2 separate regions of the Homo sapiens genome follow, and region 1 is linked to region 2. Evidence: promoter capture Hi-C in 16 types of primary human blood cells and fetal thymus (Javierre and others, 2016). All regions are on one chromosome and are shown on one strand. Each heading gives the region's core, a stretch centred on a gene start or on the middle of the fragment in contact. The rest is flanking DNA. Distances are from core to core; before and after follow the strand shown. Region 1 overlaps RASSF6 (Ras association domain family member 6). Region 2 holds the start of EPGN (epithelial mitogen).

What was found. Contacts are between HindIII fragments. The CHiCAGO score rates a contact against its expected background, and 5 or more counts as called.
Region 1: a contact is called between a fragment that was not itself captured here and the fragment with the promoter of EPGN in region 2, in 2 of 17 cell types (endothelial precursors and M1 macrophages). The highest score is 5.3, in endothelial precursors.

Annotation. Positions count from the first base shown.
Region 1 is chr4:73,573,712-73,579,020 of GRCh38, forward strand. It overlaps RASSF6 (Ras association domain family member 6), which reads right to left. Exons shown (of 11, transcript NM_177532.5): 9 at 2,902-3,020; 10 at 2,699-2,796; 11 at 1-2,599. The coding sequence ends at 2,524. Among named protein-coding and RNA genes, the nearest start is that of RASSF6, 44 kb to the right of the region's middle. The HindIII fragment of the contact is 213 bases long and covers 2,300-2,512 here.
Region 2 is chr4:74,305,943-74,311,508 of GRCh38, forward strand. EPGN (epithelial mitogen) reads left to right here and starts at 2,528. Exons shown (of 5, transcript NM_001270989.2): 1 at 2,528-2,634; 2 at 3,151-3,240. The coding sequence starts at 2,592. The region is part of intron 2 of LOC105377276 (a long non-coding RNA gene); the gene reads right to left. The HindIII fragment of the contact is 2,238 bases long and covers 1,370-3,607 here.

The sequences.
Region 1 (5,309 bases), core at 1,156-3,655, 730 kb before region 2:
AGGCCAAAATGTGTATTTATTTATTTATTTTACTTTGTACTTCGGTGGCATGTCAGTTATTATTTTACTGTCTCTCAGCTCCACATTCACTGTTGGTTGCCCGCTCCGTGAAAATAGATATAGACTCTTGAAATGTTTCCTTTGCAGCTTGCATGATGGCATACTTTGTCAGTAGAGGGCGCTGGAGACACACTGCAAGAGGAAGGGGTCTTTCCTGATTCCTCCAGGCTGACAGGCCAGGCTACTGGAGAGCAGGCTTTTTTCCTTCACTACTTTGCCTGGAGTGGTTTCTGCAGTGCTGGTTGCCTGTAGGGTGCAGCTTTCTCCAGCATTTCTCCACTTGCTTCTCTAGCTTTTGCTTTGGGCAGTGGTGGTATAACCTGGAGCCACAGTGCAAGCCGGTCCTGAAGCTCCAATTGCTGCTCTCCATTTCTTCTCTTCAGCTGGGTGCACACTCATACAGAGGACCCTGCTGGGCTGGCCAACTACTGAGCCACTTGCCTGAGCTTTGTCTTGTGCAGTCTCGTCACACAAAGTTATGCTAGGTTCCTGCAAAGTAGGTCCCTCCGGCTCCTAATCCCAACAGTGCCTCGAACAGAACCCGTGACTCCTTCTTTGTGCTTACCCTTTGGCAAAGCCCCAAGTCCCTCTGCATATCTGCCCACCTGCCTCAGCTGGTCCACACCTAGGGGGTTGGCTGTACCAGCTTGTCCAGTATCTGTGGTCCTGCTCTGGCCTGGGCAAGCCAGCAAACTTCTCTCCAGTGGGCTGCAACCACACCTTCTCCAGTGAATTCTGAAACCCTCATTCCTGCCTTTCCTTGTTAGGATTCTTTCCCTCAGCCTTAGGGTACCTTCTCTTTTCATCTTTATTATTATTCTCCTATCATAGCTTAATTATTATTTATATTAAACTTTCCCTGTTTAAATTACTACCTTGTTTCTGTCTTCTGATTGATACAGACTAACACAGTTGTTCACTGTTAAGATACGACTTTTTTCATATACTTAGTGGCCATTTGCATTCTCTCTTCTGTGATTTTTCTTTTCATATCTACCTTTTTTTTCTATGTAAGACTTGGTTCTTCTCTTATACATTTCAGTCTATTGAAGACTAACCTTTTGTCATGTTCATGGCAGGTACATGACACTAGTTTTTTATAAGTATGTTGAATTTTAACTATTACATTTGCCTCATTTAAGTGAGATGAGACTATTTTCTTATTAATATTGACAGGTGAAAGAATAGCGATGCAAGCCTCTGGTTTACTCAGTAAGAGAGACTTCTTAGGCTTGAAAAGGCCATAGCACACTTTCACCTTCAACCAGTTTAGGTTTGGTAATACTGAGAAGTAATGCCTTTGTCTTAAAAATGTTTCATATTTTAATATTGTTAATCTTCCAGTTGGGTTTACTGCATATAATCTCATTCCTTAGTACATGTAATATGATCAATTTACTACAATGCTTATGAGGAATGCAAATGGAATTAGTTTACAGAATGAAAGAATGTTGCATATAATTCCATTTTAATACAGAATTTATAAATAAAATCATAGTTTATACTTATAGCATTTCTTCATTTTTAGTGTTTTTTTTTCAAGTGGGTTAAACAGATCTGTGAGTACCTTGAGAGTTGTCATGTAGAATAAGATGCTAAGAGGGCAGAGTTTGGGATTCCCTATGTAACTTCAGCTACAACAGCCTTGCTTTATCCATTGTATTCATTCAGCAACAAATAGGTATTTGTGGGCCAAGTCTTACTTTAGCCGATGTAATATGTCTATGTGATATAAACATTTTTTTGAAAAATAAATAAAGAAAAAGTTCAATTAACTTAAAAAAGAGCTTAAGAAAAGCTTTGAACTGATGAAAGGTCTTTCATCAGCAGAAGAGAGAGAATAAAAGGGCTGGGGGGAGGTTCAGAAAATTTCAATTAGGATTTCTTAACAGAGTCCATAATTTTTCCTTTCCAAAGGCCAGACAGCTCTGATGTTACAGATAGTCAGAAGTCAACAGGCCATTTAAGATAGTCCTAGATTTTATGAAAATGCCAGAGTTTTCAAGAAGCTACTGTCACTATCAGGTAGATTCCTTGATGGTGTAAGACTGTATTTCTTTTTCATTCCAAGAACTGGCAGCTTCTTTTTTCTGAGTCATTTCTGAATCCATTGATTATGTTTCAGTTCTCTTGAGAGTCCAAGCTAAATGAAGTTTAAACTGCTTATCTGAAGACACCATTTAAATTTGAGTTCATTACATGGTTTACTATAAAAGCTATTTGGCATATGCAGTATTCAAGCTTATTTCAGTTACTGAAACTAAACTCAAACTCATTTTGTCCAACTGTGAACCCTAATTAACCTCATCACTTCAAAAAGAAATGAGCTTTTTTTGACATTCAATTTTCTACGATTCAAGTCTCATATATGTTCGTATAAATGCAAGTACAGAACTTATGCATTCATCAAAGAGTAATATCTCTGAGTTTTTTGAAATGTTTTAGCAATAGAAGCTTGTACTGCTAAACTGTTGTCTCTGTTTTTATTACTAGTTTATTTTGAAGACATTTCAGTATAATCGCCTTTTCTTTATTGAATCTGAAAATGAGAAGAAGAAAGACTATTAAAAATTGGACATATTTTGTGCATTGGACATATTAAAGAACGGAGTATCCAATGTGCATGCTCTTGACTTACTTTGTTACTATTCTTTGAATCTCTCTTTTCTCTTCTTCATTTAATCTTTGAAGAATGGATTCCAAGAGAGAAAAGTGAAAGTTAATGTACTGAGCCACCTAAGAAAGAAGAAGAAGAAAAAAAAAAGAAAGCAGAACAATTATGCAAGAGGTGCTGAGTCAGGAGGGAAGCAAAAAACAGATTCAGGGTGATGGTATTCATACATCACTGCTAATTTCTTCTGCATCTTTATCCATGAGGAAAATGCGAGCATTCTTTTCAGAAGGTCCCTGTAGGAGCCTCTGCAGTAGCGGAATGTCTGTCTTCTTTAGTCGTCTTTGTTCTGCAGTGAAAACAAGAATCAACCACAATCAGAAGTTCATGCTGCAGGAAAAGAAGGAAGATAATTTTCCAATTTATTTTTCGTATTTAACTCACTTTGAAAAAAATAACACCTGCAACAGGAGGCAATTACTCAAAAAAGCAAATTGAAATTAAAACTTAAATGAACTTCTTTCTCTTACTGTATCTCAAGTTTTGATTAATGTCTCAAAGAACTCAGCCTTCCTTTGATTAGAGTGTTCAAACAAATCTCCGGTCTGATAGGCCTTTTATAAAGCAATATGCCTCAATAATTATTTAGGTTTCATTCCACCATTCCTTCATCCATACAACAAATATTTATTGGTTCTTTCCAAGTTGAGTTGATGTAATTCCATCTTTCTGGTTCTTCAGGTCCAAAACCATGTAATTATTTTCAATTCTTCCTTTGTCTCGCTCCACACCCAATTCTTGGCTCATCTTTAAAAATATATTCATGAGGTTTTTGAGATCAATAATATTCTTATTATTCATTCATCTGGGCTTAATCCATTCAGCCATGAAAATGAGATAGAGAAAGAAAATATCTTCCAATCTGGTGTGTTTCCAGAACTTCAAATTTCCAAAAGTTATAATATAAATACTCCTGCTACAAAAGTACTTATAGCTTTCTGTCAAAGTAGTTTCACATCTGGGATTTCATTTTTATCAGAATAAAGCATGAACAAAACATAGTGTCCTTATATTCATCTTATTTCCTCATTCTCTCCTTCACCTTGCTTACTTTCTTCAGAACAGTGAGAACTGTTCTCATTCCCTGAGCTGGACTTATCCCAGGAAAAGAGTCAAGAGAGAGTCTAGAACTCAAAAGCCCAGCCTCCCCACAATTAAAGTGATATTACCCATTCCTGTTCACATAGTGTCAGTGTTTACTGTTCTAATTCCTCTGCCATTTCTGAAGCAGTTGGGAGCCTTGACAACTTAGCTCCTCTCATCCACCCACCAGAATCCTCTTTTGACCTTCAGGTCCAATGTTAACTTGGCTTAGCATCCTCTTGCTTCATGATTCTGCTTTATGGGATGATTATTAAAAATAATGATTAAAAAATTATGATGATGATTATTAAAAATGCATATTCCTAGAGTTGTCCCCTGATCTGGAAGGACTTGGGAATCTGTATTTTAAGTGAACTCTATAGGTAATCTGAAATGAACTACAGTGTGAGATACACTGTAATGGGCTTTGTAGATATAAAGTTAAAACCCACCTATCTCTGTTTTCCAGATTACTGCCCAAACAGGAGCCATATGCTCTCTTCTGACCTAGTTATTATTATCTGCAGTTATGGATATATGCAAAATTTTGACACAAAATATAAAAGAAAATGGGATTTTTATAGGTGAAATTATAAAGAACTACATTTTTTATAATGAAAATAGACATTTTTTTCTTATAAAAACAACACGCTTGTTCGTTCATAGGTCCAGCACCTTGTGTGGAGCCCAAGAATGACTGGAAGGAAACTAAGCCATATTTCTGCTCAACTGCAGGCTAAAGTTAGAGGTGTGAGGAAAGAACGAGGTGCATGTGAATGGAATCCAAGTCTTGGAGAACACCAAAGAGGGAATTTTCAAATCTTGTACAACCTAGCTGTTCAAGTTATCACACAATCATTTAAGACTTCTTAATAAAACTGCTTTTTTTAAACTTAAAAAAAAATTCCCTTCCCCAAACATGCATGCTATTGTAATTGGAACAAACGAGAAAAGTATAAAGCAGGAAGTAAAGCACAACTGGAATTTCCAAGCCCTGAGATACTCTGCATTACCCTTTGAGTGTCCCCCTCACACAACTCATAATACATAAAGGTAATCATATCGTGCTTGCTATTTTTATTGTACACACCTTTAAACAAATCATTTTTTCTCTTTTTTTTTTTTTTAGACGGAGTGCAATGGCACGATCTCAGCTCACTGCAACCTCCGCCTCCTGAGTTCAAGCGATTCTCCTGTCTCAGCTTCCTGAGTAGCTGGGATTACAGGTGTGCGCCACCACACCTGGCTAATTTTTTTGGTATTTTTAGTAAAGACGGGGTTTCACCATAGTGGTCAGGCTGGTCTCAAACTCATGACCTCAAATGATCCGCCCACCTCGGCCTGCCAAAGTGCTGGGATTACAGGCATGAGCCACCGTGCCTGACACCCCCCTTCTCATCCTCTCATCTGCATTTCCCCAATCCCCCACCAGGTAATCTATCTCAATGGTTTTGTATTTATCACTCCATACCTTTCTCCCTAGTCATAAGACCAT
Region 2 (5,566 bases), core at 1,278-3,777:
TCACAGTTAATTAAATATTTAGTTTTTTTTCTAATAAAGGTAATTTATTTAAAGCTTGATTTTAGGAGATAATTGAGGGAATTCTTTTGAGATCAGTACAACAACTACTACAAGAGAACACAGCTAGGTAAATGGAAAGAGCATACGATTTAGAATCTGTAAATATAGAATTGAAGTCCTTTTTTTTGTTCGTTTTGTTTTGTTTTGTTTGTTTGAGACAGGGTCTGTAGCCCAGGCTGGGGTGCAATGGTGTAATCATGGCTCATTGCAGCCTTGACCTCCCAGGCTCAAGTGATCCTCCTACCTCTGCCTCTCAAGTAACTCATGCCCAGCTAATTTATTTTTTGTAGAGTCGGGGTCTTGCTCTGTTGCCCAGGCTGGTCTCAAACTCCTGGGTTCAAGCAATCCTCCTCCCTCAGCCTCTGAAAGTGCTGAGATTACAGGTATGAGCCACTGCACCTGGCCAGGATTGAAGTGCTGACTCTAGGCATGTCCTTTGGCAAGTCACTTAATTCTTTTGGGCCTCAATTTGTCATTTGTCATGTGAGAATAGAAATAATGCCTATTTATTTCCTTATTCTCTGAAGACAGATTCATTGAGTATTTACTAGATGTTAGGCACTGGATTTGTTTGGGCCAGGGTTACTGAAGAAAGAATTGAGATGTGTAGGGAAACCTGTAAAGTGCAAAGGACTGCACTAGCTACAGTTAAGAGTTTTTACAAAGATAATCTTTGTACTTTGATGTCTCAGTCTTAGAAATAAACTATTTAATCCCAGCACTTTGGGAGGCCAAGGTGGGTGGATCATGAGGTCAGGAGATCGAGACCATCCTGGCTAACACAGTGAAACCCCGTCTCTACTAAAAATACAAAAACTTAGCAGCGCCTAGTGGCAGGCACCTGCAGTCCCAGCTACTCGGGAGGCTGAGGCAGGAGAATGGCATGAACTCAGGAGGAGGAGCTTGCAGTGAGCTGAGATCGCACCACTGCACTCCAGCCTGAGTGACAGAGTGAGAAAACATCTCAAAAAAAAAAAAAAAGAAAGTATTTAATATGAGTCCTAACATCTCCCTCCAGAAACTACAAAAAGAATTGTGATGGTTTATTTAATCTTTTGTAAATGATTTCTTTTTAAATTCTCAGCAATGGTGCAAAGACGATTGTTCAATTTATAATTCAAATGTTATTTGCCTGGGAAATATATTATCTAGAAATCGACTTAGTAATCAACAGTTTTTTAAAAACCTACAAAAGTAGAAATGCAAAATGTAGACACATTTAAAGCGAGCCAAGTACTATTATATTATTTTAACTTTAAAATGATGACTCCTGTGGCAAGTGATTGCCCAAGTTATAATGAGTTCAACAAGCTTGTTCTTGTGTGATTTCTAACACCACATTTATATTTGAATAGTGAAAGGGCTCCTTTCTGGTAAATCTAATTTGCTGAGTGGACATGATGCAAAAGATAACCTATCTTGACTTGAATATGTTTTTAGGGTTTTGAGGTTTCAAGTTTCAAGAAAATACAAGGAATTGAAATTCCAGACAGAAAGACTCAATGCCTCAGGAAGATATATTTATAAATCATTTATATTAATTTGGGGCAAGTGAAAATTTCTGTAGTTGTAAAATATAGTAGCTGTAATGACATATTTTGGCCTTTAAAGTGCCACTTTAATAATTACAACTAGATGAACTTGAGAAATAATTTGAATGTTGTATTAACTTAGAAACTTTCTATTCATTGGATGTATCCAAACTAAATGTCATCTTAATTTTCTCTTAATGGAGAATTTTAATATTATTATTATTGCTATTATCATTATGTTGGTACTTTACTGGTTCTCTGTAGCTTAATCATTGGGATGCAGATTTAAGCATTGTTGTTCCTGGAATATGGCAGCCCATTTCATTTACTCAGAAAAATGTTAAATAGCAGGATGACAGAAAGGTGAATATTATACTATTAAAAATAATTTTATTTACAGCACTTGTCATAGTAACACTAAGAAACAAACACTAAAATGGAATATGAAACCTCTGTGTTTTCACAAATTTAACTGTTCTCTGCAACTAAATTAACAAATTATCTTGATTTGAAATGGAACTTATAGTCTGTAATAAAAGGTGGTATAACCAACTATAGTTTCAGGTATATTTCTTTTAGAAACAGGTTATGCTGCTTCCTAATTTGCAGTTATGTTTGTTGAACTCCCGTATAGGTTTCTAGCATAGTTTGAGCTGGTATAGTTCTCTTCACACCAATGGGAGCCTTTCCTGAAATTACATTTTGTTCTTGTTGTTTTAAGTACTTTTACATACATGATTATGCCCACAGGTAACAGGAAACCAGTGTTTCAAAAGAAAACTTGATCACATTGCTAGATAATACAGGTATCCTAACCAAGTGCGTGAGCGCCCAGAGGCTTTCTGCTGCTGCCAGAAGTACATATTTTTTTGATTGGTAAGAACTGCCAGATGACGCTTCATGAAATATAAATGCAACAAAGACTCAGAGAGCTCAATAAAAACCTTCCACCCGTCAGTCTAGAAGGATAAGAGAAAGAAAGTTAAGCAACTACAGGAAATGGCTTTGGGAGTTCCAATATCAGTCTATCTTTTATTCAACGGTAGGTAATTTCCTTTTGTTTTGTTAACTTTATATCAGTGTAAAATGTGAATAGAATTTATTTTCTCTGCATTAGAGAGAAGTTGGCTTCTAACAGTTGTTCTTTATGACAAAGATCAGAGTAATGAATCTGTGGATTAATTTAGTTTCTTATGTCCTGTATGTTCCTTTCCTAATATATTTTGACACCTTTTTTGAGACCTCCAGAATGTTTGCTTTATACAATTGAAGAGTAATTGATACATTTAGCTACTATACTATAGGGTTCTTATTTTTTAATTAATATGTAAATGTATCAATGGTCTTAAATATTGGGTTTTTATTTGCTTTAATCCTAATATAGTCAATGGAATGGATGAGAAACTGTAAGTATGTTGCCCTAGTCACGTTATGGATTTCAACTGTAATAAATTAAAAAAATAGAAATTGGAATAAACAGAATAAGAATACTTTCCATCTGTTGCTTGTACATAGAAGGAGGCTCTCTGTTAAAGATGCTTTTGCCCCCTTAATACAGCAATGACAGCACTGACCGAAGAGGCAGCCGTGACTGTAACACCTCCAATCACAGCCCAGCAAGGTAACTGGACAGTTAACAAAACAGAAGGTATTTTCTTCCCATTTTCATATTTCACAAGACTTTTCTAAAACTTGGGAGAGAAATTTGGATTGTGATAAAAGCAATATTGGCCATTTTTAATATATATTTTATTATTAGATAATCAGCTCTTTTAGCAGGATGCTGTTAAATTGAAGTGACAGATAAATGTGCCAGGAAATAATTGCCTTTTTAAAAGGAGGAAGTTAAGCAAATGAGACAAAAGCTGTCTTCAGTTACTGTCTTGAATGTGAAACAGGCCACATTTTCTGCTTCATTTCTGCTTGGTTCCCAATAACCCCTGTGTGTACAGAGACAGTTTGTCCCCATTTTGGCATTCTTGATGAGCAGCATTATATTTTGATCTGTGATTATAAGCTTTGATGCCAAAGACATTATGGCTACAAGATGAACAGCACTTTCCCTCATCTTTGGAATGACCTTTTTTTCTTGTTTGCTTTGGAGTTTTTGTTGTTATTTTAGCATATGCTGTATTTCCTAACCACTTGTACCCAATTTTTGTTGTTGATGGTAATGATATATTTTCTTTTGCACTTAATTATTATCACAGTGGCTTCTGGATGCTCTTGAGCATCAGCGTTCTTTCTCTAATCTGTTTAAACTCTTAGAGGTGAAACTTGGAAAGCTTGTTGCTTACCAAGACCTGTGACTGAGTGGTTATGATTCTTCTGCAAATCGCATCCTGATTGCTATGTGAAGGCTGGCAATTTGATTTAGGACAGAGGAAACAATGTCTTGCACTCAGAGTCAGGCAAATAAAGGAAGATTGTCATATCTCAGTGTTCTTCATGTCACCAATAATTTAAAATTTTAAATGATTGTCTCGAAATATTTTACCCATTTGATTTTTTGAATATCTGTTGATTTGCAAAACGAAATCAATGTGGGTTATAGAATAACTTTTAGCCAACTATTTGTCTTCTAAGCCTTCAAACAAAGAGGAAACACCTTATTATAATTATTATATTCAGTACTATATTATACTGGCCTGGCACAGTGGCTCGTGCCTGTAATCCCAGCACTTTAGGAGGCCAAGGCGGGCAGATCACCTGAGGTCAGGAGTTTGAGACCAGCCTGGGCAACATGGTGAAACCCTGTCTCTACTAAAAATACAAAAATTAGCTGGACGTGGTGGCGCATGCCTGTAATCCCAGCTACTCAGGAGGCTGATGAAGGAGAATTGCTTGAACCCAGGAGGTGGAGGCTGCAGTGAGCTGAGATGGGGCCATTGCACTCCAGCCGGGGTGACAGAGTGAGAGTCCGTCTCAAAAAAAAAAAAAAAAAAAAAAAAGAAGATAATATACTGCAGAAAATTAAAGAAGCATAGTTTTCTCTCAATGACTGACTTCGTAATAGCATGCTCAGTACTAAATTTTTTTTTCTTCCTTAATGGTGAACAGCAAATAAAATATTTTGAGTTACAAGTAATAATAATGGTAAAAAGGAATCCAATACAGTCATCCTCCGTTATTGGTTGAACATTGGTTCCAAGACCTCCTCCTCCTGCCCAGAGGGTACCAAAATCCACAGATGCTCAAATCCCTTATATAAAATAGTGAAATATTTGCATATAACCTATAGACACACACCCATGTACTTTAAATCATCCCTTGATTAGTTATGCCTAAAACATTGTAAACGCTATGCAAATAGTTGTTATACTGCATTGTTTAGGGAATAATGACAAGAAAAGTCAGTACATGTTATGTACAGATGCTTTTTTTTCAAATATTTTCCCTATGAGGTTGGTTGAATCCACAGATGTGGAACCTATGAATACAGAGGTACAACTGTATATCATTTCTGTATTTTTCCTTTGCTTTCTTGATGGAGAACTTTAATTTTTCCTTTTGTTTTTTATCTAACTTAAAAATATCAATCTAGTATCTTAGAAAAATTTTTATAAAGTTATGATCATTCTCATTCTTAGGGGAAAGATGAGTCTCTCTGGTATAACTTTTCTTTAGAAATGGCTTAATTCTCACATTTTTCTACCAAATCTAGTTTCAGGCTTAGTTAATCGAACTTGTTTAGTCTTGAAATAGAAAGCACCCAGCACAGTTTATAATGGAAAATTCTCACTGCCTGAGAATTAATTATTAAAATGATAAATTATATTCATCCTATTCAACAAAATGAACGTGAATTAGAAGATAATGTGTGTTCTCACCAAAATAAAGTAATACAACATAGTATTTTGTTTGTAATCTTAACATCTAAAGATTTAGCATTTTTAATATAAAAAAGAATGCCTTTTAAAACTGTTTTTTCCCTACAAACAAGTAAGATTCTCTTAATCTTAGCAAGGCAAATA